Linked DNA regions of Homo sapiens: all the other regions are linked to region 4. The links are contacts of gene promoters, found by promoter capture Hi-C in human tissues and cell types (Jung and others, 2019). All regions are on one chromosome and are shown on one strand. Each heading gives the region's core, a stretch centred on a gene start or on the middle of the fragment in contact. The rest is flanking DNA. Distances are from core to core; before and after follow the strand shown.

Evidence for each region. Contacts are between HindIII fragments. The study calls those that stand out against the background at their distance.
Region 1: a contact is called between a fragment that was not itself captured here and the fragment with the promoter of GALNT13 in region 4, in 6 of the 25 tissues and cell types used here (aorta, heart left ventricle, hippocampus and 3 more).
Region 2: a fragment that was not itself captured here is called in contact with the fragment with the promoter of GALNT13 in region 4 in 6 of the 25 tissues and cell types used here (dorsolateral prefrontal cortex, hippocampus, mesendoderm cells and 3 more).
Region 3: a fragment that was not itself captured here is called in contact with the fragment with the promoter of GALNT13 in region 4 in 2 of the 25 tissues and cell types used here (liver and ovary).

The regions. Positions count from the first base shown.
Region 1 is chr2:153,923,587-153,931,116 of GRCh38, forward strand. The region is part of intron 2 of GALNT13 (polypeptide N-acetylgalactosaminyltransferase 13); the gene reads left to right. Among named protein-coding and RNA genes, the nearest start is that of GALNT13, 55 kb to the left of the region's middle. The HindIII fragment of the contact is 3,993 bases long and covers 605-4,597 here.
Region 2 is chr2:153,831,561-153,839,468 of GRCh38, forward strand. It overlaps a transcript of GALNT13 not described here. Among named protein-coding and RNA genes, the nearest start is that of GALNT13, 36 kb to the right of the region's middle. The HindIII fragment of the contact is 6,259 bases long and covers 1,874-7,908 here.
Region 3 is chr2:153,904,085-153,910,927 of GRCh38, forward strand. All of the region lies in intron 2 of GALNT13 (polypeptide N-acetylgalactosaminyltransferase 13), which reads left to right. Among named protein-coding and RNA genes, the nearest start is that of GALNT13, 36 kb to the left of the region's middle. The HindIII fragment of the contact is 4,425 bases long and covers 1-3,638 here.
Region 4 is chr2:153,866,157-153,873,487 of GRCh38, forward strand. GALNT13 (polypeptide N-acetylgalactosaminyltransferase 13) reads left to right here and starts at 5,766. Exons shown (of 13, transcript NM_052917.4): 1 at 5,766-6,147. The HindIII fragment of the contact is 9,874 bases long and covers 1,313-7,331 here.

The sequences.
Region 1 (7,530 bases), core at 1,351-3,850, 54 kb after region 4:
ACATGCAGGTTTGTTACATATGTATACATGTGCCATGTTGGTGTGCTGCACCCATTAACTTGTCATTTACATTAGGTATATCTCCTAATGCTATCCCTTCCCCCTCCCCCGACCCCACAACAGGCCCCCATGTGTGATATTCCCCTTCCTGTGTCCAAGTGTTCTCATTGTTCAATTCCTACCTATGAGTGAGAACATGCGGTGTTTGTTTTTTTGTCCTTGTGATAGTTTGCTGAGAATGATGGTTTCCAGCTTCATCCATGTCCCTACGAAGGACATGAACTCATCATTTTTTATGGCTGCATAGTATTCCATGGTGTATATGTGCCACATTTTCTTAATCCAGCCTATCATTGATGGACATTTGGGTTGGTTCCAAGTCTTTGCTATTGTGAATAGTGCCACAATAAACATACATGTGCATGTGTCTTTATAGCAGCATGTCAATCATGATTTTTTAAAATTTCCAACTTTTATTTTTAAATTCAGGGGTACATGTGCAGGATGTACAGGATTGTTACATAGGTAAATGTGTTCCATTGTGGTTTGCTGCACAGATCATCCCATCACCTTTGTATTAAGCCGAGCATCCATTAGCTATTCTTCCTGATGCACTCCCTCTTCCCACCCCCACCCTCAGATAGTCCCTGGTGTATCTTGTTTGCCCCCATGTGTCTATGTGTTCTCATCCTTCAGCTTCCACTTATAAATGAGAACATGTGATATTTGGTTTTCTGTTCTGCATTAGTTTGCTGAGGATAGTGGCTTCCAGCTCCATCCATGTTCCTGCACAGGACATGATCTCATTCCTTTTTATGGCTGCATAATATTCCATGGTGTATATATACCACATTTTCTTTATCCAGTCTATTGTTGATAGACATTTAGATTGATTCCATGTCGTTGCTATTGTGAATAGTTCTGCAATGAACATGTGCCTTTATGTATCTTTATAAAAGAACAGTTTATATTCCTTTGGGTATATACCCAGTAATGAGATTGCTGGATCAAATGGCATTTCTGCCTCTAGGTCTTTGAGGAATTGCCATACTGCCTTCCACAATGGTTGAACTAATTTATACTCTCACCAACAGTATATAAGCGTCCCTTTTTCTCCACGACCTCGTCAGCATCTGTTGTTTTTTTACTTTTTAATAATAGCCATTCTTATTGGTGTGAGATGATATCTCACTGTGTTTTTGATTTGCATTTCTCTAATGATCCGTGACGTTGAGCTTTTTTTCATGTTTGTTGGCCACATGTATGTTTTCTTTTGAAAAGTGTCTGCTCATGTCCTTTGTGCACTTTTTGATGCCATTGTTTTTGGCTTGTAAATTTGCTTAAGTTCCTTATAGATGTTAGGTATTAGGCCTTTGTCAGATGGATAGATTACAAAAATTTTGTCCCATTCTGTAGGTTATCTGTTTATTTTGTTGATAATTTCTTTGCTGTGCAGAAGCTCTTTAATTTAATTAGATTCCATTTGTCAATTTTTGCTTTCGTTGCAATTGCTTTGGCATCTTTGTCATGACATCTTGGCCTGTGCCTATGTCCTGAATGGTATTGCCTATGTTTTCTCCTAGGGGTTTTATAGTTTTGGGTATGTATTCACATATTTAATCCATCTTGAGTTGATTTTTGTATATGGTATAAGGAAGGGGTCCAGTTTCAATTTTCTGCATATGGCTAGCCAGTTGTCCCAGCACTATTTATTAAATAGGGAATGCTTTCCCCATTGCTTGTTTTTTTCAGGTTTGTCAAAGATCAGATAGTTGTAGGTGCGCAGTCTTATTTCTGGGTTCTGCATTCTGTTCCATTGGTCTATGTGTCTGTTCTTGTACCTGTACCATGCTGTTTTGGTTACTTTAGCTGTATAGTATAGTTTGGCATCAGGTAGCATGAAGCCTCGAGCTTTTTTTTTTTTTTTTGCTTAGGATTGTCTTGGCTATTTGAGCTCTTTTTTGGTTCCATATGAATTTTAAAATTCTTTTTTCTGATTCTGTGAGGAATGTCAATGGTAGTTTAATGAAAATAGCATTGAATCTGTAAATTGCTTTAGGCAGGATGACCATTTTCACGATATTGATTCTTCCTATCCGTGAGCATGGAATGTTTTTCCATTTGTTTTGTGTCATCTCTGATTTCTTTTAGCAGTGCTTTGTAGTTCCCCTTGAAGAGGTCCTTTATTTCCCTTGTCAGTTGTATTTCTAAGTATTTTATTCTTTTTGTGGCAGTTGTGAATGGAAGTTCATTTGTGATTTGGTTGTATGCCTGTTGTTGGTGTATAGGAATGCTAGCGATTTTTGCACATTGATTTTGTATCCTGAAACTTTGCTGAAGTTGCTTATCAGATTAAGAAGCTTTTGGGCTGAGATGATGGAGTTTTCTAGATTTAGGATCATGTTACCTGCAAACAAAGATAGTTTGACTTCCCCTCTTCCCATTCTAATACCCTTTATTTCTTTCTCTTGCCTGTCAATCATGATTTTTTTCAAATTGTGGTACACTATTAATAGGAGACAACGCTTTTCTAAAGCAGAAATCACTACGCATCTCAGATACCTCAAGTTGCATGTGATTTTAATTTAAATAATATAAAAAAGAATAATGTTCTAGGGTCCAAGTATATGTTTTCAATATATTAAAATTTATTTACATGAGATGAATATACAATTTATTGGTGTTTTTTTCTTTTCTGAAGATTTAATTGGATTTGAGGGAAATACAGGCTGCAATGGTGGGAATAGTTAAAAGTGAGTAGTCTTTTCCACTTTAAATAATCACTTTTAAATATGGTCCTGATGGATTTAAGGTTGTATTTGTTTAAACAAAAGCCACATATACAACTAGAAAGAGATAGTTCCTGAATTTTGGTTAAGAGTCCAGGTTTGAAAAGTTAGCCATTTTCTTCAAAAGAATGTGGAGTTTTAAAATAATTTCACATTTGAGGCAAATTCTTATCTTTCCAGAGACTGTAATACTAGAGACTAGTAAAAGTTAGAATTTTGGAAACAGATTACTTAAATCAGGCTTCGTTTTAATGGGGAATTCTGTCTTCCTTTTCTTTCTCATTTATTCTGTTTTGTGAATAACCCTTGACAGTCCTTTGGGTCTGTTGGTCTATATTTGCACGGTTTTCATGACTGTATGCGTGCCATGTACTCACGTACACATCGGCACAAATATCAGATGAGTCAGAAATTTAGTCCGTATCACTATTATTGGTGATTTTCTTATTACTTTAAAATAAAACATATATCTTCCTCATTATTCAGATAATAAATACTATTTCTAGTTACTATATAAAATCACAAAACGCATTAGAGAAGCACAATGAAAATTCCCACATTTACACGTTTTTCCAATGCTTGTATATGAATAAGTTAAAAAACAGTTGCAATCATAGTGCATTCATAAGTAGACATTGCAATTTTTAAAAATAGTGTCATAATATCTCTTAACTTAAAGTCTTTTCTCAATATGGGGTATTTAAAACAGTGTTCAGTGGAGAAATTACTAGTTCAAAGTATATGATAATTTTTAAGAAAATGGGTCAAAAATCTTATTTTTAATAAACGCTATTTCTTTCCAAAAATGTTTTTACCAATTTATGTTTCTATCTGCAAAGAAAGAAAGGACCCGTTTATCCCATCTTTGCTAAAATATAATTTTGTTACAAATAGTATTTAATTTTGATTTATAGTCCTTTAATATGCACAATTATTAATTAAATTAATTAGAAGTTTTGCAGAATGATAGGGGAAATGTCGCTTTGTTTACAGGTTGGCTTTTCATGTGCTTGTACACATAATGGTAATCTCTGCTTACCTGTTATATCTCGCATTATATTTTTCCTTTTCTCCTATATTTATGGCAGATTTTCTTGTTTTTTAACATCTGTGTTTTCTATTAATGGATTATACACTCCATTATATTAGTTGCTTTATATTGATTGACAAATTATCATCTTTAGCAATATTATATGACAAGTTTTCTTTGCTAATAAGAATATGAATTTTAAGTCCATGAGGACTTGAAACTTTTACTTTACTGTTAATTAATTGGAGAGTATTCAATATTTGGAATATTTAGTTCTTTATGTAATTATTTACTTCTTTCCTCTAATTGCCTGTCTTTTAAGGCACTTAACTTATGATTAACAACTTTACCAGGAAGTTTGCAGGAAAAAAACCGAAGCTCCAAGTCAAATTATTAAATATGTTTATATAAGCTTTAATGAGTTGTTTTGTTTTTTCCCCTGTGGAAGAAGACTATTTCACCTATTAATACTTTATTAACTAGTTTAAGAAAAGAGTGCATTTATTCCATGGATAAGATGTTGTTAAAAATCAATCATTAAAATATGGGAGCAGACAAATAAAACTTTGTTTACATTTGTGCAAGTTTAGTATACCTCTAGAGTACCCTGTAAAAGCCCCTTCTTCATCTCCCCTTTATGCTACTGGGGGTTCTTTTGTGTCTAGGGTTCTGTGCTTTTGTTTGACTTTATTTCACTTTCTATCCCCCATTAATTGTCAACCAGACTAGTCAGAGTGACTCTGATACAATTTTACAAGATAATATATTATTCCTCATTATTTTTCTACAAATAAATGCCCCTGTTTTGAAATGGAAGCCTAGATAAGAAATAACCACATTATTCTACACATTTCAAAGAAAGAACACTTGTAATATATTTCTTACATATTTTGTCATGAAGAATTCAGAAGCCTTAAGGCCAACTAGGAAGCTGCAGTTTAGATTTTCTAATGGTTGGATGTCTCAGTGGAAACATTTATTTTCTTTTTAATCAGGAGATTTATGGCAGAAGATGGCCAGCTAGCTGATAGATGTCTACTGGGAACTGTCTAAATGCTCTAGTGTTGTTTTAAATCTCTAGTTTTATATCTACTTGAACATTCTGAATTTCTCCCTTCCCCTCTTGAGGACTATTAATGAACAAGCTTGAATCATTGGTTTGCCGTGTTATAAGATGAACACTGAGCAGTCATTAAATGCTATATCAAATGAACTATGATAAATTTTTAGGTTGATGAATAGGATTTTTAAAATCACTAAATTTCATTATGTTTTTGAGGCCCATATATTCCTTTTTAAAAGCTTTCTTTATGAGGACTTCTTAATTTCATTATATTTTAATAATAATCTATTCCTTTTAAAGTCCCAATATCATATATTTTAGGTTTTGACAACCATAGCATCTTCATAGAATGAATATCCCTAAATTCAAGCATGGCTGAAGAGAGCTATGGGTAACAAATTGCCTTGACACAGGACATCTGCCTTATAAAATGTTACTGCTTTCTAAACATTCTCTGTAAATTTATCTCCACCCTTATTTCACTCACTCTATGGCCAAGTATTGTTTGTCACTTCATTCTCTCAACATTTGTAGTTATGTATAAAAACTATCTGTTAGGAGTTTTACATATTGGAATTACTCCATATGTTTCATACATCATTTTCTTATCCCTAATCCACTGCTTTTGTATATCTCCCCTCCTGGATCCTAAGACAAAAGGCAGGAATTGTGTCTTGTTGTCTGTTTTGTTTTCTTCTCATATTTCTTTTTATTTAATTCAAGAGAAAAGTTGAAAATACCTCACAGTACCTGCCTATCAGACAATGTGAGGTCGAGTGGGCCACAGCACTGGCATCACCCCAGGTTGTTAGACATGTGCTATCCCCGGCCTTATCCCAGCCCTACTGTACAGAAATCTGCATTTTATTTTATTTTTCTTTCCAACATTTATTTTAGGTTTACGGGGGCAGGTGGAGGTTCGTTACATGGGTAAATTACATGTTGTGGAGGTTTGGTGTGCAGATTATTTCGTCACCCAGGTAATGAGAATAGTACACAAAAGGTAGTTTTTCAGTACTTAACTTCCTCATACCCTCCACCTTCAAGTAGGCCATTGTGTCTGTTTTTTCTTCTTTATGTCTATGTGTACTCAATGTTTAGCTTACACTTATAAGTGACAACATGCTGTATTTGGTTTTTCTGTTCCTGTGTTAATTCTTTTAGGACAATGGCCTCCAGCTCCATCCATGTTGCTGCAAAAGACACGGTTTCATTCTTTTTATGGCTGTATAGTATTCCATGGTGTGTATTTAGCACATTTTCTTTATTTAGTCTACCAGTGATGGGCATCTAGGTTGATTCCATGTCATTGCTATTGTGAGTAGTGCTGCAATGAACATACACATATATATGTCTTAATAATAAAATGATTTATATTCCTTTGGGTATATACCTACTGATGAAATGGCTATGTCAAATGGTAGTTCGGTTTTAAGCTCCTTGAGAAATCTTCAAAACGTTTTCCCCATTGGCAGAACTAATTTACAGTCTTATTAGCAGTGTATAAACATTCCCTTTTCTCCACAATTTTGCCAGCCTCTGTTATTTTTGAATTGTTAATAGCCATTCTGACTGGTGTAAGGTGGTATCTCATTGTGGTTTTGATTTGCATTTCTCTAATTATTAGTGACGTTTATCGTTTTTCCTTATGTTTGTTGGTCACATGCATGCCTTCTTTTGAGAAGTGTCTGTTCATGTCTTTTGTCCACTTTTTAATGGGGTTTGTTTTTTGCTTGTTTATTTAAGTTCCTTATAGATTCTGAATATTAGACCTCTGATGGATGCATAGTTTGCAGATACGTTCTTCCTTTCTGAGGTGAGGGTTGTCTGTTTGTTGTCTGCTTGGCAGAGGCTCTTTAATTTAATTAAGTCCCACTTGGGAATTTTTGTTTTTGTTGCAATTGCTTTTGGCATCTTCATCATGAAATCTTTGCTGGGACCTATGTCCAGAGTGGTATTTCCTAGGTTATCTCCTAGAGTTTTTATGGTTTTAGGTTTTGCATTTAAGTCTATAGTCCATCTTGAGTTGACTTTTACATATGGTGAAAGGAATTTCAATTTTCTGCCTATGACTAGCCAGTTATCTCAGCATCATTTATTGAATAGGAAGTCCGTTCCTCATTGCTAGTTTTTTTTACTTTGTTGAAGATCAGATGGCTGTAAGTGTATGGCTTTATTCCTGGGTTCTTTCTTCTGTTCCACTGGTCTATGTCTGTTTTTGTACCAGTAAGTACCATGCTGTGTTGGTTACTGTAGTCTTGTGGTATAGTTTGAAGTCAGGTAGTGTGATTCCTCTGGCTTTGTTTTTCTTGCTTAGTATTGCTTTGGCTATCTGGGCTCTTATTTGGTGCCATATGAACTTTAGAATAGTTTTTTTCTAATTCTGTGATGAATGTCCTTGGTAGTTTGATAGGAATGGTATTGAATCTGTAAATGGCTTTGGGCAGTATAGCCATTTTATCAGTATTGATTCTTCCTTCTCATGAGCATAGACTGTTTAACCATCTATGTTATCTCTGATTTCTTTCAGCAATGTTTTGTAATTCTCAATGTAGAGATATTTCATTGTCCTGGGTAGCTGTATTGCTGTATTCCTAAGTGTGTGTGTGTGTGTGTGTGTGTGTGTGTGTGTGTGTCTATTGTGAATG
Region 2 (7,908 bases), core at 3,753-6,252, 35 kb before region 4:
CTCAGCACCCAGAAACCCAGCACCGTTGCCAATGCCCTCTCTTGACTCTGTGGGAGGCCCTCCTCGACTTCAAATTAATAATAAATCCAGCGTCTTCCCTGTTTCCTCAGCCTTAGCAGTGTTAACTGCGTCCGTTGGTGCTATCTCTGTGTTTCTACAGTTCTCTTTTGAGTCACCCAGTTGGCAGCTTCCTACTTCTACGTCCTGATTGGGTTCATTTGCTTTCCTGAGTGGACTCTCGCTAATAACTGGAAGCATAGCGTATCTCTTCATTTATTGTCTTCTTTGAACTCTGTTAACAGAAATTTATAGTTCTTGTTCTATACTCGTGTGACATATTTCTAGTTAATTATGAGGTACTTTATATTTTGTTGTTTGTGTGTGTGGGCTAGCTTTGTCATAAATCTTTGAGCAGGTCATTGCCAGAATAAAGGAAAACTTTTAATTCCATGTCGATTTTAAGTAATTAATTTTTTCTGAAGTTTAATGAAAGAAGAGAACTGTATGTTTCAGAGCATAATCACTGGAGATGTTTGTAGCTATGTTAAAAGTTTATGCTAATAGCATAAATGAAGTCTACCTGGTTCCATCAATGCCTGAATAATCTGACTGTATCACAATTGACATTCACTGGGAAAAAATGAAGAAGGCATAGTGGAGACTAACAAAGGACAAGGAAGATCACAGCAGACATTGCTAAAAATAAAAATTATTTCCAAAAGAAATGCTATTCATAGTGAATTATATATGTTATTGGTGATGATCTGTGAAGGCATAAAATAGAATTTCATTATTTTAGTATGAGAGTCTCGATAGGTCAATTTTGCCATAATCAAAACAAGTTCAAAAATAAGTGGAGTTATCATGGGATTTAAGTTGTTCAGGGAATTAGGTATGTAGTTGTAAAAGATCTTTATTTTGACTCCACTACTAATCCGGGGAGTGTGACTAATAAAATAAAAGTTAGTAGTTTTAGTTACAAAATGGCAGAGTTGATTGTTTGCTAACAGATTTCAATATGAATAAATATTACTGATGATATTGTTTTGTAGCTCTTCATTTCAGCCAAGGTCAAAATGAAGTAATTAAATTAAAGCTGCAGCAGGAGACTTTAGATCAGGTAGAAGGAGCACTTCTGCTACAAGGGCCATTTTGTAATGTATTTTGGGTACCTAGTTATGTTTTTCTTTAGAAAAGGGATAGACAAACCTTTCCTGTAAAGTGTCAGTAAATATTTTAGGCTCTAAAGCCAGACAGTCTCTGTCACAGCTATGCAATTCTGACTTTTTAATGCAAAAGCAGCCACAGGTAATACTAAACAAATAGGCATGGATATGTCCCAACAAGGCTTTATACAGTAGTCCCCTTTTATCCTCTATTTTGCTTTCCATGGCTTCAATTGCCTGTGGTCAAGCTTGGTCTGAAAATATTAAATGGGAAATTCCAGAAATAAACAATTCACGAGTTTTAAGTTGCCCACCATTCTGAGTAGCCTGATGAAAATCTTGCACTGTCCCTCTCCATCTTGTTCAGGATGTGAATTATCTTTCTCCAGCATCTCCATGCTGACTATGCTCCCTGCCACCTAGTCATTTAGTAGCCCTTTTGGTCATCAGATCACCTATCCTGGTATTGCAGTGCTTGAATTCATGTAATCCTTATTTTACTTAATAATGTCACCAAAGCACAAGCATAGTGATGGTGGTAATTCTGACATGATAAGTAGAAGCTATAACACACTTTTTTAAAAGTAGAAACATGAAAGTTCTAGACTTAATAAGAATAAAAATTGTAATTTGAGGTTGCTAAGATCTACAGTAAGAACAAATCTTCTATTTAAAAGTAGAAACATGAAAGTTCTAGACTTAATAAGAACAAAAATTGTAACTTGAGGTTGCTAAGATCTACGGTAAGAACAAATCTTCTATCTGTGAAATTGTGAAGAAAGAAGTCTCACAGTATAATGTTTTAATTGTTCTATTTTATTAGTAATTGTTGATAATCTCTTAGTGTATCAAATTTAACTGAAACATTATCACAAGCATGTATGTATTGGAGAAAACATGATGTACATACGGTTCAGTACTACCAATGTTCTTAGGCATGCACTAGGCGTCTTGAAATGAATCTTTCATAGACAAGGGAAGACTACTTTATACGAAACAAGCAGCAGGCCAGATTTGGGTCATAGATTGAATATTGCCAACCCCTGTTTTAGAAGACTGGAAACAGAAATTGTAAAATCAACTCTCCAGGTAGAACCATTTTGGGAGATTTATATTTTGGCACGTCTCAAAATATGGTGGTAGCTTGGGGATTCTATGCCACCAAGCTTTCTATTCCTTTTTGATTCCCTTCTTAGTATAATATTGGACAGCCATACCTTTCAGTCTTCAGAATTATCACTCCGAAAAGAGTGGTGTGATTTCTTAACAATGTTACTGATAAAAAATTAATTTTTTTTGTGATTTAGGCATACTCAATTTTGTTTTTATCATATTAAATTGAAAAAGTTAATATACCGGCTTGCCTGTCTTCACCCCCTTGTAAGGAAATTTGTACCACTTGTAGCTGTTTTTAGTTAGGCGGGTATATTTTCTGTTGTAAAGCTCTCTCACTCCCAGGACCCAGAGAATGTGCTTAATCTAGGGAAGCCCTACCACAGGCTGGACACCATGCTAAAATGAGACTGCAAGATATGCAAACTGGAAAGTTGCCAGAGGCCAGGCAGATAATATAAAAGAATGAAGGAGGCCAGATTAAACAGTAGCTCACTTTCTTCTGCTTAGAAGCTCTTCTCTAAAATATGCCAGGGCATAAAGACAAAGATAAAAGCCAAAGAATCTCAGCCTTATTGTAGGACAGAGTTGGGAGTGGTGGCAACCTGGAGAGCACAGGCTCTGTCCAGGGGACTGTAGCTAATCAGCACCAAGTAATTGTTAGCATAAACAAAATGCCAAGTGTTGTCAGCTCTTGTTTTTTCAAGGGATGGCAAAAATTAGGATATTTTGGTAAAAGTTACCAATTTATAAATATTGGGAGTTAATACAATTTTTTAATACTTTAGTGGAGGGGAGGCAAGAGTATCTATGCTCAAAACATATCTGAAAGTTTAAAATGACTATTGAGTCACCATTTACAACTTCTATAGTACACATTGATTTTCTTTTTGGGGAACATGAATTTGGAAAGATAATGAGGCATACAACAGGCTTATATAACATGTATAATGGGAGGAAAGGAACTGACAAAACATGAGGTGGAGTTGGAGCCATGGCAAGATGAAGCTGTCTGTACCTAGAACATAGTCCATGCCTTGTAAATATTTGCTTTTCAATGGGGATAAGCATATTTTCAACTTAAATATTTGAACAACCATGAAGTATGAGTAAGCAGAGTTAAGTCAATTGGTAGAAACTCAATTGAGAGAAGAGCAGAAAAGACACGCGAAGAAAAATTGAAACTCAAGAGGAGGTAATTAAGTCTGTGAAAAAGAAGAGAAGACAGTCTGGTCCTTGAAGTTGCCTCCTCTCATGGTACTTTTTCTTTCTAGTTCTAGACTTTTTCCTCTTGTAATCTTACAGCAAAACTTCTTATCCTGAGCTGACTTGGATGGATTTTTTAAATATATATACTTAAAAGAACCTGAACCAAGCATAAAACATTATAGCGTATATCTGGTTGTTTTAGGTAGTGAGTACAGGGTCATGGTGGTTAATCTTACATGTTGTATCCCAAGAAAACTCACATGCAAGATAGATAGAATTGCAAAACACAAGAATTATTTATGTCCAACAATGTACTTTCTTATTAATTCACTTAAGATTATAATATTTGTTACCTGTCATTCAAAGCATCTGATGCAATATTTGGTACCAGTGATAGTTTGAGTAATAAAAAATAATTAGAATAAAGAATGCAGTCATTTAAAAAATACAAATTTAATGAAAGGGGTTTTGGTTCTATGATGAAATGGTTTTAATGTTATAGTTTCTGGGAAACTGGAATCTTGAAGGTTTTGATTTAAATTCCTTTAAATTGAAATTAATAAACTTAAAACTTACTTTTAAAATATAGAAATACTTTGATAAAACCCAATTTGTCTATGCTTCATAATATAAAAGAGTGAATTTCATCTACTTATCACATATATTTACATGATTATTTTAGTGCTATCACTTCCTGTCATATTAAAATACTTTAAATATATGTTTCAATAACAAATTTTGGATTTATGGAAACCAGCAGATTAACTCTTATATTTTGATGGGTAATGAGCTCACTTGCTCCATATGACTTGACTGATCTGGCCATTCTAAGATTGAATATCAGATTACTCTTCTCTAAGTAATATGTCCATTTTAGCTTTGCCATTTTGGGGGGAATAGTGAACCTATCAAAAGCATTGAGTTTGCCTTAATGTGCTCTATGTTATGAAGCTAATATGAATTTATCTTGTCCCCTGATCTATGGTTAAGATAAAATAATTTTAGGAGTCTTTAATCCTAGACTTTCAATCCCAAATTGGCAAATTACCTAAATATATCTGGAAAAGATGCAATCTCAGCTATGTCTTTGACATCTGAATGCAAAGAAGGTGAAATAACACATGGGGCAATTTATTGATGTGATAAGACAAGGAGAAAATGTTTTTATTGTATATATTTAAAGTGCACAACCTGATATTTTGATATACCTATATATTGTATAATAGTTACCATAATTAAGCTTATTATCACATCTATCACCTCATACAATTGCCATTGTTTTCTTGCGGTTAGAACACTTAAAATCTACTCTTAGCAAATTTCAAGTACATTATTAACTATTGTCATCATGCTACACATTAGATCTTCAGAATATATTCATCTTAGAAAGTTTGTACTGTATGACAGAAATTCTCTTATTTCCTCCCCCATCCCATAACCTGGCAACCATTGTTCTTTTTTTTTTTATATTTATTATACTTTAAGTTTTAGGGTACATGTGCACAATGTGCAGGTTAGTTACATATGTATACATGTGCCATGCTGGTGTGCTGTACCCATTAACTCGTCATTTAACATTAGGTATATCTCCTAATGCTATCCCTCCCCCTCCCCCCTCCCCACAACGGTCCCCAGAGTGTGATGTTCCCCTTCCTGTGTACATGTGATCTCATTGTTCAATTCCCATCTATGAGTGAGAACATGCGGTGTTTGGTTTTTTGTCCTTGCGATAGTTTACTGAGAATGATGATTTCCAACTTCATCCATGTCCCTACAAAGGACATGAACTCATCATTCTTTATGGCTGCATAGTATTCCGTGGTGTATATGTGCCACATTTTCTTAATCCAGTCTATCATTGTTGGACATTTGGGTTGGTTCAAAGTCTTTGCTATTGTGAATAGTGCCGCAATAAACATACATGTGCATGTGTCTTTATAGCAGCATGACTTATAGTCCTTTGGGTATATACCCAGTAATGGGATGGCTGGGTCAAATGGTATTTCTAGTTCTAGATCCCTGGGGAATCGCCACACTGACTTCCACAATGGTTGAACTAGTTTCCAGTCCCACCAACAGTGTAAAAGTGTTCCTATTTCTCCACAACCTCTCCAGCACCTGTTGTTTCCTGACTTTTTAATGATTGCCATTCTAACTGGTGTGAGATGATACCTCATTGTGGTTTTGATTTGCATTTCTCTGATGGCCAGTGATGATGAGCATTTTTTCATGTGTCTGTTGGCTGCATAAATGTCTTCTTTTGAGAAGTGTCTGTTCATATCCTTTGCCCAGTTTTTGATGGGGTTGTTTGTTTTTTTCTTGTAAATTTGTTTGAGTTCATTGTAGATTCTGGATATTAGCCCTTTGTCAGATACTCACCTGGCAACCATTGTTCCATTCTGTTTCTATGAGTTCAGCATTTTTAGATTCCATGTATTTAACTGAGATTATGCAGTATTTGCCTTTCTGTTTCTGGCTTATTCCACTTAGCATAATGTTTTCTAGATTCATCCATTTTATTGCAAATCAGTATTTCATTCTTTTTCTAGGCTGAATAATATTCTACTCTATGTAACTATATCTATAGATAGACATCACATTTTCTTTATCCATTCATTTGTCAATGAATATTGAGGTTGATTCTACATCTTGGCTATTGGGAATAATGCTGCAATGCACGTGGGAATGCAGAAATCTCTTCCAGATACTAATTTTACTTTCTTTGCATATATTCCCAGAAATAGGTTTGCTGGATCATGTGGTAGCTATAATTTTAGTGTTTTAAGGAATCTCCTTACTTTTTTCCATAATGGCTATACCAATTTATATAATAGTTTCAATAATGTACAAGTGTTTCCTTTTCTCCAATCCTCACCAATATTTATTATCATTTGACTTTTTAATAATAACCTTTCTAACAAGTGTGAGGTGACATCTCGTTGTTTTGATTTGCAATTCTTTGATAATTAGTTGAGCACCTTTTCATATACATGTTGGACATTTGTATATCTTCTTTGGATAAATCTCTATTCAGGTCCTTTGTCCATTTTTAACTATTTTGCTACTGTGTTGTATGAGTTCTTTATATATTTCGAATGTTAAACACTGTCAGATATAAAGTTTGCAAATATTTTGTCCCATTCTATAGGTGGCCTTTTCATTTTGTTGATTTTTCCCTTTCCTCTGCAGAAACTTTTTAGTTTGATGTAGTCCCACTTGTTTATTTTTGCTTTTGTTGCTTGTGCTTTTGGTGTGATATCCAAAAAAGCATTGTCCAGACCAATGTCATGTGGTTTTCCCCCTATATTTCTTCTAGGATTTTTATGGTTTCAAACCCTATATTTAAGTCTTTAATTCACTTTGAGTAGTTTTTGTATGTGGTGTAAGATAAGGGTCCAATTTTATTGGATATAACCAATTTATTTTTGGGTATATCCAGTTTTCCCAGCCCCTTCATTGAAGGGACGGCCCTTTCCCCATTGTGTATTTTTGATGCCTTCATTGAAGATTAGTTGAGTTTGTATGAGTTTTTATTTTCCTTTATTTTGAGCTCTCAATTCTACTCTATTGGTGCAAAAGTCTGTTTTAATGCCAGTTCCATGCTGTTTTGATATAGCTTTATAAAATACTTTAAAATCAGGTAGTGTGATGCATCCAGTTTTGTTCTTCTTGTTCAAGATTACTTTTGGTCTTTTGTCTACTCAGGGATCTATTCAGGAACTCTTGTGCTTCCACACAAATTTTAGGATTTTTTTTCTATGTCTGTGAAAAATGTCTTTGAAGTTTTGATAGAGATTGAATTGAATCTTTAGACAACTTTAGGTAATATGGACATTTTAACAATATTAATTATTCTAATCTATTAACAGAATATATAATTACATTTGTGTCTTCTTCAATTTTTTATCTTTTTTTCTAAGTTTCTGTGTATAGATCTTTCATCTCTTTGGTTACATTTATTCATAAGTATTTTATTCATTTTGATATAAATGGAATTATTTTATTAATATCTTTTGGGTAGTGTGTTGTAGTGTACGTAAATGCAACTGTTTTGTAGGTTGATTTTGTATTCTGCAACTTCACTGAATTTGTTCGTTCTAACAATTTTTTTGTGCATGTAATGTTTAGAGTTTTGTATATATAAAAATCATGTCATGAGCAGAGAGTTTTACTCCTCATTTCAAACTTAGATATATTTTACTTTTTTTTCTTGCTTAATTGCTCTGGCTAGAACTTCTAGTACTATATTGAATAGAAATGCTGAGAATGGACATCCATATTTTGTTTCTGATTTTAGAGGAAAAGTATTCAGGTTTTCACTGCTGAGTATGATGTTAGCTGTGGGCTTGTAATATATGGCTTTTATATGTTGAAGAATATTTCTTCTATACCTAATCCACTGAGGGTTTTTAATCATGAA
Region 3 (6,843 bases), core at 176-2,675, 34 kb after region 4:
TCTTCAGTGTATGGTGTCCTTTTCTGAATGTATGTTTGTTTTTAAGTTTCTTTAATGTTTTTGTGTGGTTCATTAATTTTCATTGCTATATAGTATTCCATTGTATAGAAATACTACAGAATATTTATTCATTGTATTGTTGATGGACATTTGTGCTCTTTCTAGGTTTGGGCCATTACCCAAATGTAATGCTGCCATAAACATTCTTTTAAATGTGTTTTTGCTAAATATGTACATATATTTCTCTTGAATATATACTTAGCAATGGAATTTCTTAGTCATATTGCATGCAATCTTTCAACTTTAGTAGATACTACCAGACAGTATTCCAAAGTAACTATACTAATTTCACTTCATTCATTAGTGTGTAAGAGTTTCCATTGTTTCATCTTTACCAAAGATTAGTATAATCATTTCTTTTAATTTTAGCCATTCTGGTGAGAGTTTGGTTTACATTTTCTTGTTGATTAATATGATTATGTCATGTAGCTTAATAGCCATGAACATATTATTGTCTATAAATTTCCTGTTCATATGTGTATTTTTCTATTGTGTTGATTTTTAAAATTGTTAATATTCACAAGTTAGTTACACTAGATTAAGAGCCTCCCATCAGTTAAATATGCTGCAAAGTTCTCCTTTTCTATGATTTGGTTTTTCAATTTCTTAATGAGGTTTTTTTGATGTTCCTAATTTTAATTTTAATCATTATATCACCTCATTATGTTTATATCTTTCCACTTGCCTTCATTTTTGTGAGTGATGTGAGGTAGAAGTCAAGTTCTAGATATCCAGTTGTTATAGAATCATACTGGACAATTCTCTCCTTCGCCCACTGTTCTTTAATGTCATATTTACTATAAATTAAATTTCTATATATGTCTGGGTCTTTTAGGAGCCAACTTCTATTTAATTGGATTATTAGTCTCTTCTTACCACTTATAACACTATTTTAACTATGGCTACTTTTTAAATATTCTTAATATCTATTAAAACAAGTTCTTCTACCACATGTTATTCAAAGGCATGTTGACTTTGCCTTCTTTCATGTAAATTTTAGAATTACTTTGTCAAGTTAACAAGAATAATTGTTTAGATTTTAGTTAGAATTGCATTCAATCTATTGTTAAGTAAATTTTTAAAGAGCTGGTGTAATTACAATATTAACTGATTTCATTTATGAACATAATATATACAGCATTTCCTCCTTATTAACTGGGGACACATTCCAAGATCCCCAGTGGATGCCTGAAACTGCAAATAGTACTAAACCTTATATATAGACTATGGTTTTTTCTATATATACATACCTCTGATAAAGTTTAATTTATAACTTAGGCACAGGAAGAAATTAACAACAACTAATAATAAAATAGAACAATTATAACAATATACTGTAATAAAAGTTATGTGAATATAGTCTCCTTGTCTCTCAAAGTATGTTATTGTACTGTACTTAACCTGCTTCTTGTGATGATGTGAGATAATACAATGCCTACATGATGAGATGAAGTCTTGTGAATGATTTTGGTCATAACTTTCATAGTTTGAGGTGCAACAGCAAAACTAACATAAATCTCTTGTTCTTTCTTCACAATTTCAAGGACAGAAGAAGCATTCTTACCATAGAGCTTAGCAACGTGAGCAAACAACTTTTTCCCTTTATTATTTTCTTAAAGGAAACACTTTATGGCTTCTCTTTGGCATATTCAAATTGCCAACATCACCAGTCTTGTAATTTGGGTCCATTATTAAGTAATATAACGGTGACTTGAATACAAACACTGTGATAACTTTAGCAATCAATCTGATAACCGATATGGCTACTAAGTGGCTATTGGGTGGGTTGTGAATGTAGCATGAGGATGCTGGACAAAGGAATGATTAAAGTCCTAGGAGGAATAGAGCAGAGCCATGGGAAATTTCATCAAGCTACACAGAACAGCACACCATTTAAAATTATAAATTGTTTATTTCTGGAATTTTCCATTTAATATTTTTGGACCACAGTTGACGATGAGTAACTGGAACCATGGAAGGCAAAACCATAAGTAAGGGGGGACTTATTTATTTTGATCTTTTAGTTTCTCTTAATCCCATGTCTGGTTGTTTTTTTTTAATGTTGAGTTCAAGCTAATTTTTCTTTTTTTCTTTTTTTTTAAATTTTATTATTATTATACTTTAAGTTTTAGGGTACATGTGCACAATGTGCAGGTTTGTTACATATGTATACATGTGCCATGTTGGTGTGCTGCACCTATTAACTCATCATTTAGCATTAGGTATATCTCCTAATGCTATCCCTCCCCCCTCCCCCCACTCCACAACAGTCCCCAGAGTGTGATGTTCCCCTTCCTGTGTCCATGTGTTCTCATTATTCAATTCCCACCTATGAGTGAGAACATGCAGTGTTTGGTTTTTTGTCCTTGTGATAGTTTGCTGAGAATTATGGTTTCCAGTTTCATCCATGTCCCTACAAAGGACACGAACTCATCATTTTTTATGGCTGCATAGTATTCCATGGTGTATATGTGCCACATTTTCTTAATCCAGTCTATCGTTGTTGGACATTTGGGTTGGTTCCAAGTCTTTGCTATTGTGAATAGTGCTGCAATAAACATACGTGTGCATGTGTCTTTATAGCAGCATGATTTATAATCCTTTGGGTATATACCCAGTAATGGGATGGCTGGGTCAAATGGTATTTCTAGTTCTAGATCCCTGAGGAATCGCCACACTGACTTCCACAATGGCTGAACTAGTTTACAGTCCCACCAACAGTGTAAAAGTGTTCCTATTTCTCCACATCCTCTCCAGCACCTGTTGTTTCCTGACTTTTTAATGATCGCCATTCTAACTGGTGTGAGATGGTATCTCATTGTGGTTTTGATTTGCATTTCTCTGATGGCCAGTGATGATGAGCGTTTTTTCATGTGTTTTTTGGCTGCATAAATGTCTTCTTTTGAGAAGTGTCTGTTCATATCCTTTGCCCAGTTTTTGATGGGGTTGTTTGTTTTTTTCTTGTAAATTTGTTTGAGTTCATTGTAGATTCTGGATATTAGCCCTTTGTCAGATGAGTAGGTTGCGAAAATTTTCTCCCATTTTGTAGGTTGCCTTTTCACTCTGATGGTAGTTTCTTTTGCTGTGCAGAAGGGTTTTTTGTTTAGAGGTCTTATGTATTTTGGTTAATTTGTGCCTAGAAGTTTAATGCAGTTTAATATTAAGATTATATATATACACACACACATATAATTATATACATATGTATCATATACATATAATTACATACATAATAATACATACATATTATATACACTTTTTTAACTTTTATTTTAGGTTTAGGGGTACATGAGCAGGTTTGTTATGTAGGTAAACTTGTGTCATGGGGGTTTGTTGTACAGATTATTTTGTCACTGGAATACTAAGCCTCGTACCTAATGGTTATTTTTTTCTGTTCCTCTACCTCCTGCCACCCTCTATCCTAAGGTAGAGTTCATTGTCTGTTTTTCCCTTCTTTGTGTCCATGTGTTCTGATCACTTAGCCTCCACTTACAAATGAGAACATGTGGTATTTGTTTTCTGTTCCTGCCTTGGTTTGCTAAGGATGATGGCCTCCAGCTCCATCCATGTTACTGCAAAGGATATGATCTAATTTTTTTGTGTGTGTGGCTGTATAGTTTTCCATAGTGTATATGTGCCACATTTTCTTTATCCATTCTACCATTGATGGGCATTTAGGTTGATTCCATATCTTTGTCATTGTGAATAGTGCTGCAATTAACATATGTGTGCATGTGTCTTTATGGTAGGATAATTTATATTCCTTTATGTATATACCCAGTAATGGGATTGCTGGGTTGAATGGTAATTTTGTTTTTAACTCTTTGAGGAATCATGACATTGCTTTCCACAATAGTTGAACTAATTTACACTCCCACCAGCAAGCAGTGTGTAAGTGTTCCCTTTCGCCACAACCTTGTCTGTTCTGTTATTTGACTTTTTCATAATAGCCATTCTGACTGGTGTAAGATGGTATCTCATGGTGGTTTTGGTTTCCATTTCTCTAATGATCAGTGATAGTGAGCTTTTTCATGTGATTGTTTGCCACATTTATGAAAAGTGTTGGTTCATGTCCTCCGCCCACTGTTTAATGGGGTTGTTTACTTTTTCATTGTAATTTAAGTTCCTTATAGATGCTGGATATTAGAGCTTTGTCAGATGCATAGTTTGCATATATATTTCCCATTCTATAGGTTGTCTGCTTACTCTGTTGATAGTTTCTTTTTCTGCACAGAAGCTCTTCAGTTGAGTTAGATCCCATTTGTCAATTTTTGCTTTTGTTGCAATTGCTTTTGGTGTTTTTGTCGTGAAACCTTTAACAGGTTCTTCATCCAGAATGGTATTTTCTAGGTTGTCTTCCAGAGTTTTTATAGTTTTGGGTTTTACATTTAAGTCTTTAATCCATCTTGAGTTGATTTTTCTATGTGGTATAAAGAAGGAGTCCAGTTTCAATCTTCTGCATATGGCTAGCCTGTTATCCAAGCACACTCCCATTGAATAGGGAGTCCATTCCTCATTGCTTTCTTTTGTTGACTTTGTGGAAGACCAGATGGTTGTAGGTGTGCAGCCTTAATTCTGGGCTCTCTATTCTATTCCATTGGCCTATATGTCTGCCTTTGTACCAGTACCATGCCATTTTTTTATTGTAGCTCTGTAGTATAGTTTGAAGTTGGTAACATAATGCGTCCAACTTTGTTCTTTTTGCTGAGATATCTTGCCTTGGATATTTGGGCTCTTTTTTGGTTCCATATGAATTTTAAAATATATTTTTCTAGTTCTGCCAATAATGTTATTTATAGTTTGATAGGGATAGCATTGAATCTATAAATTGCTTTGGGCAGTATGGCCATTTTAATGATATTGATTCCTCCTATCCATGAGATCCATGAACATGGAGTGTTTTTCTATTTGTTTGTGTCATCTCTGATTGCTTTGAGCAGTGTTTTGTGATTCTCATTGTAGAGATCTTTCACCTCCCTGGTTAACTATATTCCTAGGTATTTTGTCACAGTTGTGAATGGGATTGCTTTCCTGACTTGGTTCTCAGCTTGGCTGTCATTGCCATATAGGATTTTTAATGTGATTTTTGTACATTTTTTGCTAGTTTGTACAGATTTTGCTAGTAATTTTTGTACATTGACTTTTTATCCTGAAACTTTGCTGAGGTTTATCAGTTTAAGGAGCTTTCAAGCTGAGATTGTGGGGTTTTCTAGATACAGAAACACATCATCTGCAAACAGGAATAGTTTGACTCCCTTTCTTTCTGTATGTATATGCTTTATTTCTTTCTCTTGATGGATCTCTGTGGCCAGGACTTTCAATACTATGTTTAATAGGAGTGGTGAGAGGGGGCATCCTTGTCTTGTGTGGCTTTTCAAGGGTAATGCTTTTGCCCATTTATGTGATGTTTGCTGTGGTTTTGTCATAGATGGCTCTTACTATTTTGAGGTATGTTCCTTCAATATGTAGCTTGTTGAGAGTTTTTAACATGAAGGGATGTTGAATTTTGTCAAACATCTTTTCAGCTTCTATTGCAATAAACATGTGGTTTTGACTTTTACCTCTGTTTTTGTAATGAATTACATTTATTGATTTGCATATGTTGAATCAACCTTGCATTCCAGGGATAAAGCCTACTTGATCATGGTGGATTAGCTTTTTGATGGCACTGCTGGATTTGGTTTGCTGGTATTTTGTTGAGGATTTTTTAATCTATCCTCATCAAGAATTTTGGCCTGAAGTTTTCTCTTTTGGTTGTGTCACTGCAAGGTTTTGGTATCAGGATGATGCTGGCCTCATAGAATGAGTTGGGGAGGAGTCCCTCTTCCTCATTTTTTTGGAATAATTGCACTAGGAATGGTACCAGCCCTTCTTTGTATGTCTGGTAGACTTTGTCGGTGAATCCTTCTGGCCCTGGCTAGGCTTTTTTTTTTTTGGTTGGTAGACTATTTATTACTGATTCAATTTCAGAATTCATTATTGGTCTGTTCATGGATTCAGTTTCTTCCTGGTTTAGTCATGGGAGGGTATATGTGCTCAGGTATCTATCCATTTCATGTTGATTTTTGAGTTTGTGTGAATAGAGGTATTCGTAGTAGTCTCTGATGGTTATATATGTGTGTTTCTGTAGGGATAGTGGTTATTGCCTTTGTCATTTCTGATTGTGTTTATCTTCTATCTTTTTCTCTTTATTAGCCTAGCTAGTTTCTATCCATCTTTTTAATTTTCTCAAAATGCCAACTCCTGGATTCATTGATCTTTTGAATGGTTTTTTTATGTGTCAATCTCTTTCAGTTCAGCATTGATTATGTTTGTTTCTGGTCTTCTGCTAGCTTTGGAGTTGATTTCTTCTTGCTTCTCTACTTCTTTTATTTGTGATGGTGGGTTGTTAATTTGAGATCTTTCTAAGTTTTTGATGTGGGCATTTTGTGCTTCAAATTTTCATCTTAACACCGCCTTATCTGTGTCCCAGAGATCCTAGTACGTTGTAGCTTTGTTCTTATTAGTTTCAAAGACCTTCTTGATTTCTGTCTTAATTTCATTATTTACCCCAAATCATTCTGAAGCAGGTTAATTTCCATGTAATTGTATGGTTTTGAGTGATTTTCTTGAATTCTCTTTTTTTGTGTGCTGTTGTCTGAGAGAGTAGTTGCTATGATTTCAGTTCTTTTGCATTTGCTGATTGTTTTATGTCCTATTGTGTGGTTGATTTTAGTGTATGTGCCATGTGGCAATGAGAATAATGTATATTCTGTTGTTTTTGGATGGAGAGTCCTATAGGTA
Region 4 (7,331 bases), core at 4,516-7,015:
GTTGTGGGGTGGGGGGAGGGGGGAGGGATAGCATTGGGAGATATACCTAATGCTAGATGACGAGTTAGTGGGTGCAGCGCACCAGCACGGCACATGTATACATATGTAACTAACCTGCACAATGTGCACATGCACCCTAAAACTTAAAGTATAATAAAAAAAAATAAATGGTTGGATTTATTTATCCATTCAACAGGAATTTACTGTACGAAAGGCACTGTGCTTTGAATAAAGTTACAACAACCACCTCCCTTTATAAACAAATAAATCTATTTTTTTTGCTCTCATATATCCTACTATATAGTGGAGAAAATATATACAAATCACCGTCATGGAAAAATGTAAATTTGCCACTGTGTTTGGTGCAAATGACAGATGATATAAGGCTTTATGGATAATAAGATAAACTAGAGCAAATTTGAGTGTATTAGTATAAAGCTTAGTTTAAAACTAATTATACTTTCTTCATGTCATGAAATTATTGTTACAAAACCTATAATAATAAGATATATTGAATCATAAGACTTCCAAATAAAACAAATAAAACTTTAAAACTTTTAATGAGATATTGCTTTCATAAAGTCAACATTTTAACAAAAGATTTTATGCTTGAAGTAGCTATATTATTTACTGATTGTGACATTTTAAATGATTGTGTAATAGGTTTATCATCATAAATGATGAGAAAATTTGTCTGCACAAGTATAGGTGAGAAAGATTGTAAACATTTGCTTCTATGACCAAATATTTACATCAGTTAAAATCTTATTTAAAATATATCATCTCTACTTTTCTTTCATTAATTGATTCAAATTTTTTTGTGGCTATCCATGGATTTTATCAAATCTATTCAACATAATGATAAAGCTTGAATATGAAGAATGCCCGTGCATTATAAGAACAGTCAATCTGCAGCTGACATGGTTACCACTAAAATAACAAATCAACTATATATGAAATAGAATTACTTAATCTTTATGTTGCTAAATCTTTGTGTTATTAGCTGGAGCTATTCCCACTAGCAGTTTCTGCCCAACCTCCTTGCTTTCCCACCCACAATGGGCTATACTTTGAACTGCACATGCAGGCCATTCTCCAAGAAGCTCTTATCAAGTTTCTTATGATCCAGGCTATCTAATTACGGGCCCTAGCAACTTGAGGCTACACTACTTGGCTACTTCTGATGGGTGTAGTGATCGATATGTTATGGCATATCTATAAACTATTTGTGGTGCATGAGTTGAAAAGCTCAACTCTTAGCCTATTTCAATTTTCTTCTAGAATTTATTATCACCTGACGTAAATACACACCTACTTATTTATTTGGTTAGGATAGCCCTCCCCAACATTTTTGGCCCCAGGGACCAGTTTTGTGGAAGACAATTTTTCCACAGACTGGGAGAGGGGATGGTTTCAGGATGATTTAAGCACATGACGTTTATTGTGTACTTTATTTCTATTATTATTACATTGAAATATATTATGAAATAATTATCTAACTCACCATAATGTAGAATCAGTGGGAGCCCTCGGCTTGTATTCCTGCAACTAGATGGTCCCATCTGGGGGTGATGGGAGATAGTGACAGATCATCAGGCATTAGATTCTCATAAGGAGCACAACCTAGTTCCCTCACATGTGCAGTTCACAATAGGGTTCACACTCCTAAGAGAATCTAATGCTGCTGCTGATCTTACAGGAGGTGGAGCTCAGGCAGTAATGTGAGCAATGAGGAGTGGCTATAAATACAGATGAAGCTTCACTGGCTCACCCATCCCTCATATCCTTCTGTGTGGCCCAGTTCCTAACAGGCCATGGACTGCCATAGGTCTGTGGTTCGGGGGTTGCAGACCTTTGGGTTAGGACATACCTCAGCAAAATGTAGTATTCATGAAGGCAGGATCTATATCTTTTTTCTCACTGCTAGACAGTGCTAGGCATTTTCTTCTTCTCACTGGTAGGCACTGGGAATATAGCAGTGAGCATTAGCCTTAGCTCACTGCTGTATTCCCAGTTCCTAGTAAATAACTGTCATTCTGTAAGTGCTCAATGTATATTCATGGGATGTATGACTGAACCCTAAGTTTTGTGCAGGCTGTCTTTACTTTCCTCTTTGTCTTCAAAACCTATTGCAGTGCTTAGCTCATTGTAAGTACAAAGGAGGTAAGCAGAGCCCCAGAGTATAAAGGTTCTTATAGGGCATGTTAGAGATTTTAGACAATTTCTTAAAATCAATGAGAAGCCACTTAAATGTTATAATTAGAAGAAAATATTATTAGATTTCATTTTAGAAAATAAAGTTATTGCTTTCAGTGTCCCTTAATAATGGCATCTCCATCATCCTACTCATCCAATCTTAATCTCTTAAAGTTATATAATACATTTTCCTTTATCCATCATTCCTAATAATTTGCCAAAACCTGGTAATTTAATTTCAGCAAGACATAACTATCTCACCCTTTATTTCCCTTTAGAATGAGCGCCTTGGTTAATCACATAATGGACAATTGTAGCTGCTAAACTCATATCCCTGTCTTTTGTATACTCTGTAGCTAAGGCCCTATACATTTGGCCTTATATTGGCCAATAGACATTCTTGGCCTGGTAGCCCTTGTATTGGCCTTATAGCCAAGAATTGTACAGTATTGGTCTTACCATTTATCTAAGCAAATACTTGCAATAGCTCCACTTTGATTAAAGATAAATGCCAAACTTTCTGTTTGAAAAAATATGACTTTTTAATAACTTTCAACACTCATTCAGATAAATTATTGTGGTTATTATTCTTATGAGGTAAATAATGATAACTACCTGATTTTTAAAAAAGTATTTAAACTTCAAGAAATATTGCAAAATTACTACAAAGAATTAACACATACCCCTCACCAAAATTTACCAATGGTGTTATAAAAGGTTGCCACATTTGCATCATCATTCTCTCTATAGGTATTTCTGGACCTTACAACCTCTATGTTCTTTTTACTGCAAAATATTTTATTATATTTTTTAAAGATCCAGGGCTTTCTTATATATGATCACAATACAATTAAATTAGGACACTTAATATTGATATAAAACTAATTTGATTATAAATAAAAGTCATACAGTTTAGATATTATAGTTTTTATTAATATTTTGAATTAGATTGTCTCAGTAATGCTCTTTATATTAATAGATATTATTCCCAGTTTGCTCTCCAATTCTGGATTACACATTGCATTTAGTAGTCATGGTTTTTAAATCTCCATTAGTCTGGAATATTTCCTCAGCTTTTCTTTGACTTTCATCACAGTGACATTTTTGAAAAGTATAGGCAAGATATTGTGTAGAATTTTCCTTAATTTAAGGCTTTCTTTGCTTTCTCGTGATTGCATTCAATTATGCATTTTTTAATCTGGAATCCTAAATCAATAATGTTATGTACTTCTCAGTGCATCATATCATGAGGCTCATGATATCACTTGGTCCCATTATTGGTGACTTTAACCTTGGTCAGTTGGTTAAGGTGATGTTTACCAGATTTATCCACTACATGTAATTTATTATTCGTTTGTAATTAAGGATCTATAGTATATTATAAAAACAGCCTCAAGTTATTTTTGTGTATGCATTCTCCTTGAAATATGGCATTATAGTTTCTCCCATCAAGACATGGACTATATTATCTATGTTTGGGCCATGTAACTTCCATGGCTAATGAGACACCAGCAAATGTACGTCCACAGAATCTCAGAGTACTTCACATTGGAGCTTGCACTCCCTTGTTGCTTTTTGGAGCCCTGCAACTACGACTACTGCTAGCCTATTGAAGGATGATGGGCTAGATTAAACAAAAGACAAAACATTGCAGCTGAGTCCCACACCCTCAAGACTAATAAGTATGCCACACCAGACAAGTGAGTGAAGCCATCCTAGATCTCTAAACCAAACTGAGCTAGCCAGGGCAGAAACCAACCTGACAACCCACAGAGCTTTGAGAAATTACAGATGTTTATTGGTTGGGGCTAATAAGTTTTGGAATGGTGTGTTATGCACCAAAAGCCAATACTTTCTAGGGTGATACTTTGGGACTACGTAAATATCCAATTACCCAAATAAATTTTACCAAGTTTATGATTCTGCCTAAGTTAAATATTATCACAAAGACTGCAAAATGGAATTGCGCCTTTTTTTAAGAGATGAAACATGTAAGAATGGGGGCTTATTTGTCTTTGAAAAACATAGGACTAGTAAGTAGCTGTATCAGCATCAGAACCCCAATCTTTTACCTGGTCCACAGTTTTTCTCAGTATGCCATGTAGAGGTGAGTGACCTGATGTTAGGACTGGAATTCACTAGAGAGAGCAGTAGAGAGACATTCCAGAGTGTTATGAGTGGGACCCTGTGTACTCACACATGCACAGAAGCATCTCTGGTAAATGCTCCATAATTGACGGTAGGGCAGGATGGACAATGTAGGAGGAGACATTAATACAGTTATTAACATAGAAATTTAAATGATACTTGACTCACGAAAAGATATAAAGATAATATCTCTGGAAATTGCCTTTCATGAGTATAATCAAGAATGGCATTGACATACTAGATTATGATTAATAGTATCATATGTTTGTCAAACGTGGCTGTTTAATATTTTTATGTAGTCGTTATATCCTCCCCCAATTCTGCCAAAAACATCCTATAAGATGTGTGAAGTGACACTGTGAGAAGCAAGGACCCCTGTCAGCCCTTATTACAAACAAGACAACTGACACCCGAAGGGCCAAAACTAGCCAAGAGCCACAGTGAATAAATTGCCAAGCAGGCACTTGAACTCGGCAATCCCAATTTCCTAGAAAAGTTCCTCTCCCATGGCAGTGGGGGACAGGTCCCAAGTCTTTGAGACGCTAATAATGTCTGCGTCTTAGGTTTCTGCCTTGTGCCAGGCACTGTTCTAAAATCTTTACATGTATTTAAACTCAGTACCATGGGGGTATTGGTACAACACATTAACTGAGACATTCATACGTCCAGGTACTTCGGAGTGGGTGTGTGTTTAATATCATACCTACTTGCCTGAGAAAGGAATTCAAAGCCCCACTTTTTTCTTTACCTCTTCATAAAAATTTGAGAGCCACAAGGAAGCGCTCTGTGTTTCCAGTACTCTTACAGTGCGTTCGGTGGCAGTAGTCACCGCCAACCAGAACACTAGGATCCTGCCAGGGTGTAGATACTGTAACCAACAAGAGGCCAACCTCCGTCCTTTCTGCGGAGGGCGCCGAAGCGTCAAGTACCCCGCAGCATCTCTCGGCTGGAGAGCCGACGGCAAGGGTGGGGTTGCCGGCGCTTTCCCCGAGGGCAGTCTCTGATCCTCCAGCTCCCCTCTAAGAGGCTCCCTGGTGCATTGGGCGAACGCGGTGCACGCAGGCCGGCTTTGGCGTTGTGGGGCCCCAAAGCGGCCAGGGGTCGCGAGGCGCCCTCCGGCGAGAGGAGCTGACCCCAGGGTTGCTCTTGGGGGCCGTGCCTGCCAAGTATCGCGGGACTTGCGCACATCGCAGAAGCGCCAGCTCCAGAAGCAGCTGGAGCGCGCTCGGTGCGCACCGCCCCAGCCCGGGGAGGAGCGGGAGCAGGGAGGGAGGAGGGCTGGGGGTGCTGGTTACGTAAATGATACTAGCCCAGTGAGAGGCCTCCAGGCTGGGGCTACGAGAGGAGGAGGGACCACGCGAGGAGGAGGGACCGGGAGGCGGCGGGCTGGGGTGGGAGGGGGGCGGGGGCCGGGGAGAAGTGACCAGGCGGCGGCGGCTCTGCTGAGGTGACAACGTGCTAGCAGCCCTCGCTCGCTCTGGGCGCCTCCTCGGCCTCAGCGTCCGCTCTGGCCGCGCTCGAGGAGCCCTTCAGCCCGCCGCTGCGCTATGAAGGCCCCTCTCTGGGGCTGGCCGAGGCTGGAGCCGGCTCCCTCTGCTCGCGGGCAAGTGTGAAGAGAGAGGCGCGGGCGGGAGCCGGGGCTGCGCGCGGCGCTCGCGGGCCGGCGCGGGTTCCAGGTGAGCGCGGACTCGGCGAGCCCCGCACTCGGCGCGGCCGGCCGGCGCCTGCTGGGCTTGATCTGAGGCTGAATCCCGTGTGTGGACCGCCGTTCCCTCTTCGCGGGATCGTTGGCCAGGATAGCAGGTCTCCGTCTCTTTCTCGCTTCCCCTCTTTTCCTCTTGATTGTCTGGGACGAGCTCCCTCTGGGCTGCCAGAGTGCCGGGGCTAGGTGCCGCAAAGTCCCGCGGCGAGTGCCGGGGCGCGGAGCCGAGCGCCCCGGGCCGGTCCCAGGGCAAAGGCAGGGGCGCGGGCGGACCTGGCGACGCGGCCTCCCGGGAGCTCCGAGTGCGCTCGCTTGCGGGGCTGCAGGTGTTGCGGGAGGACCGCGTGGCGCGGAACTTTCTGCCGCCGCCCACCTTCTGCTCTGCTTTTCTGGCTACCCCGGTGAGTTGTTGGTGGCGGGGGGGGGGGGGGGAGCGGCTCTGGCCCCCTCTGCGTTCTGGTGACGTTCCTCCGCGGGGGTGGCTCGGCCTCCAAGCCCAGACAACTTTCTCGCACCAGCTGCAGGCAGCCCCGGCTGCGTTGCGGGCGTTTCTACTCGACCCGACACCAGGCGCTCCCTGGGTCTTGGGTGTCTTCCTCGACGGTTGCCTTCGTATAGTGCCCCCTTTGCCTCGCTTTTTCAGAGTCCTCTTGCCTCTCATTCTCGCCGTGTGTGTCTCTGCCTCTGTTTCTCTTTCTGAGCCTTGGTCCCCTCAGTCCACACTCTCCGGCCATGTATCTGTTTTTTTCTCTTATTCTGTTTCCCTCTTTCTTTCTTGGGATATCTGTGTCCCTGTTAATCTGTCTTTCCTTTTGTCTCTCCGTTTTGCAACATTTGTTCTCTTTCTGTGTCTGCTTCTCGCAGCTTATCTCTGTCTCCCTCTGTCATCTCTCTGCCCCGTCTTCCCGAACACCAGCCCCGCGATCCCGAAGCGCCTTGGTTAGGGGAGCAAGCCCTGGCGCATCTAATGGGTATCTCCAGGTGCAGAGATTTTCCTGCGGGGTCAGTGGGGACGCGGAGGAGACAGCCTGCCCTTGTCCAGGCTGTCGTGGACCTGAAGGAGGGGCGCAAGGGGTTAGAGTGGAGGGCACCGCAGCAGGCTCCCCTTGCCGGGTCCGAGGGCGCTGCGCTGCTGCGAACCTGAGCGCACTGAGGCTGCTACTCTGGACAGCGAAAGCTGCGCAAGCCCCTCCCGCATACCCGATTCTTTGACTATGGTTAGTTGAATTTCCAGGAGGAGAGTCTGCCTCCCCAACCTTTATAGCCAGCTGCAGAAGAACGGACA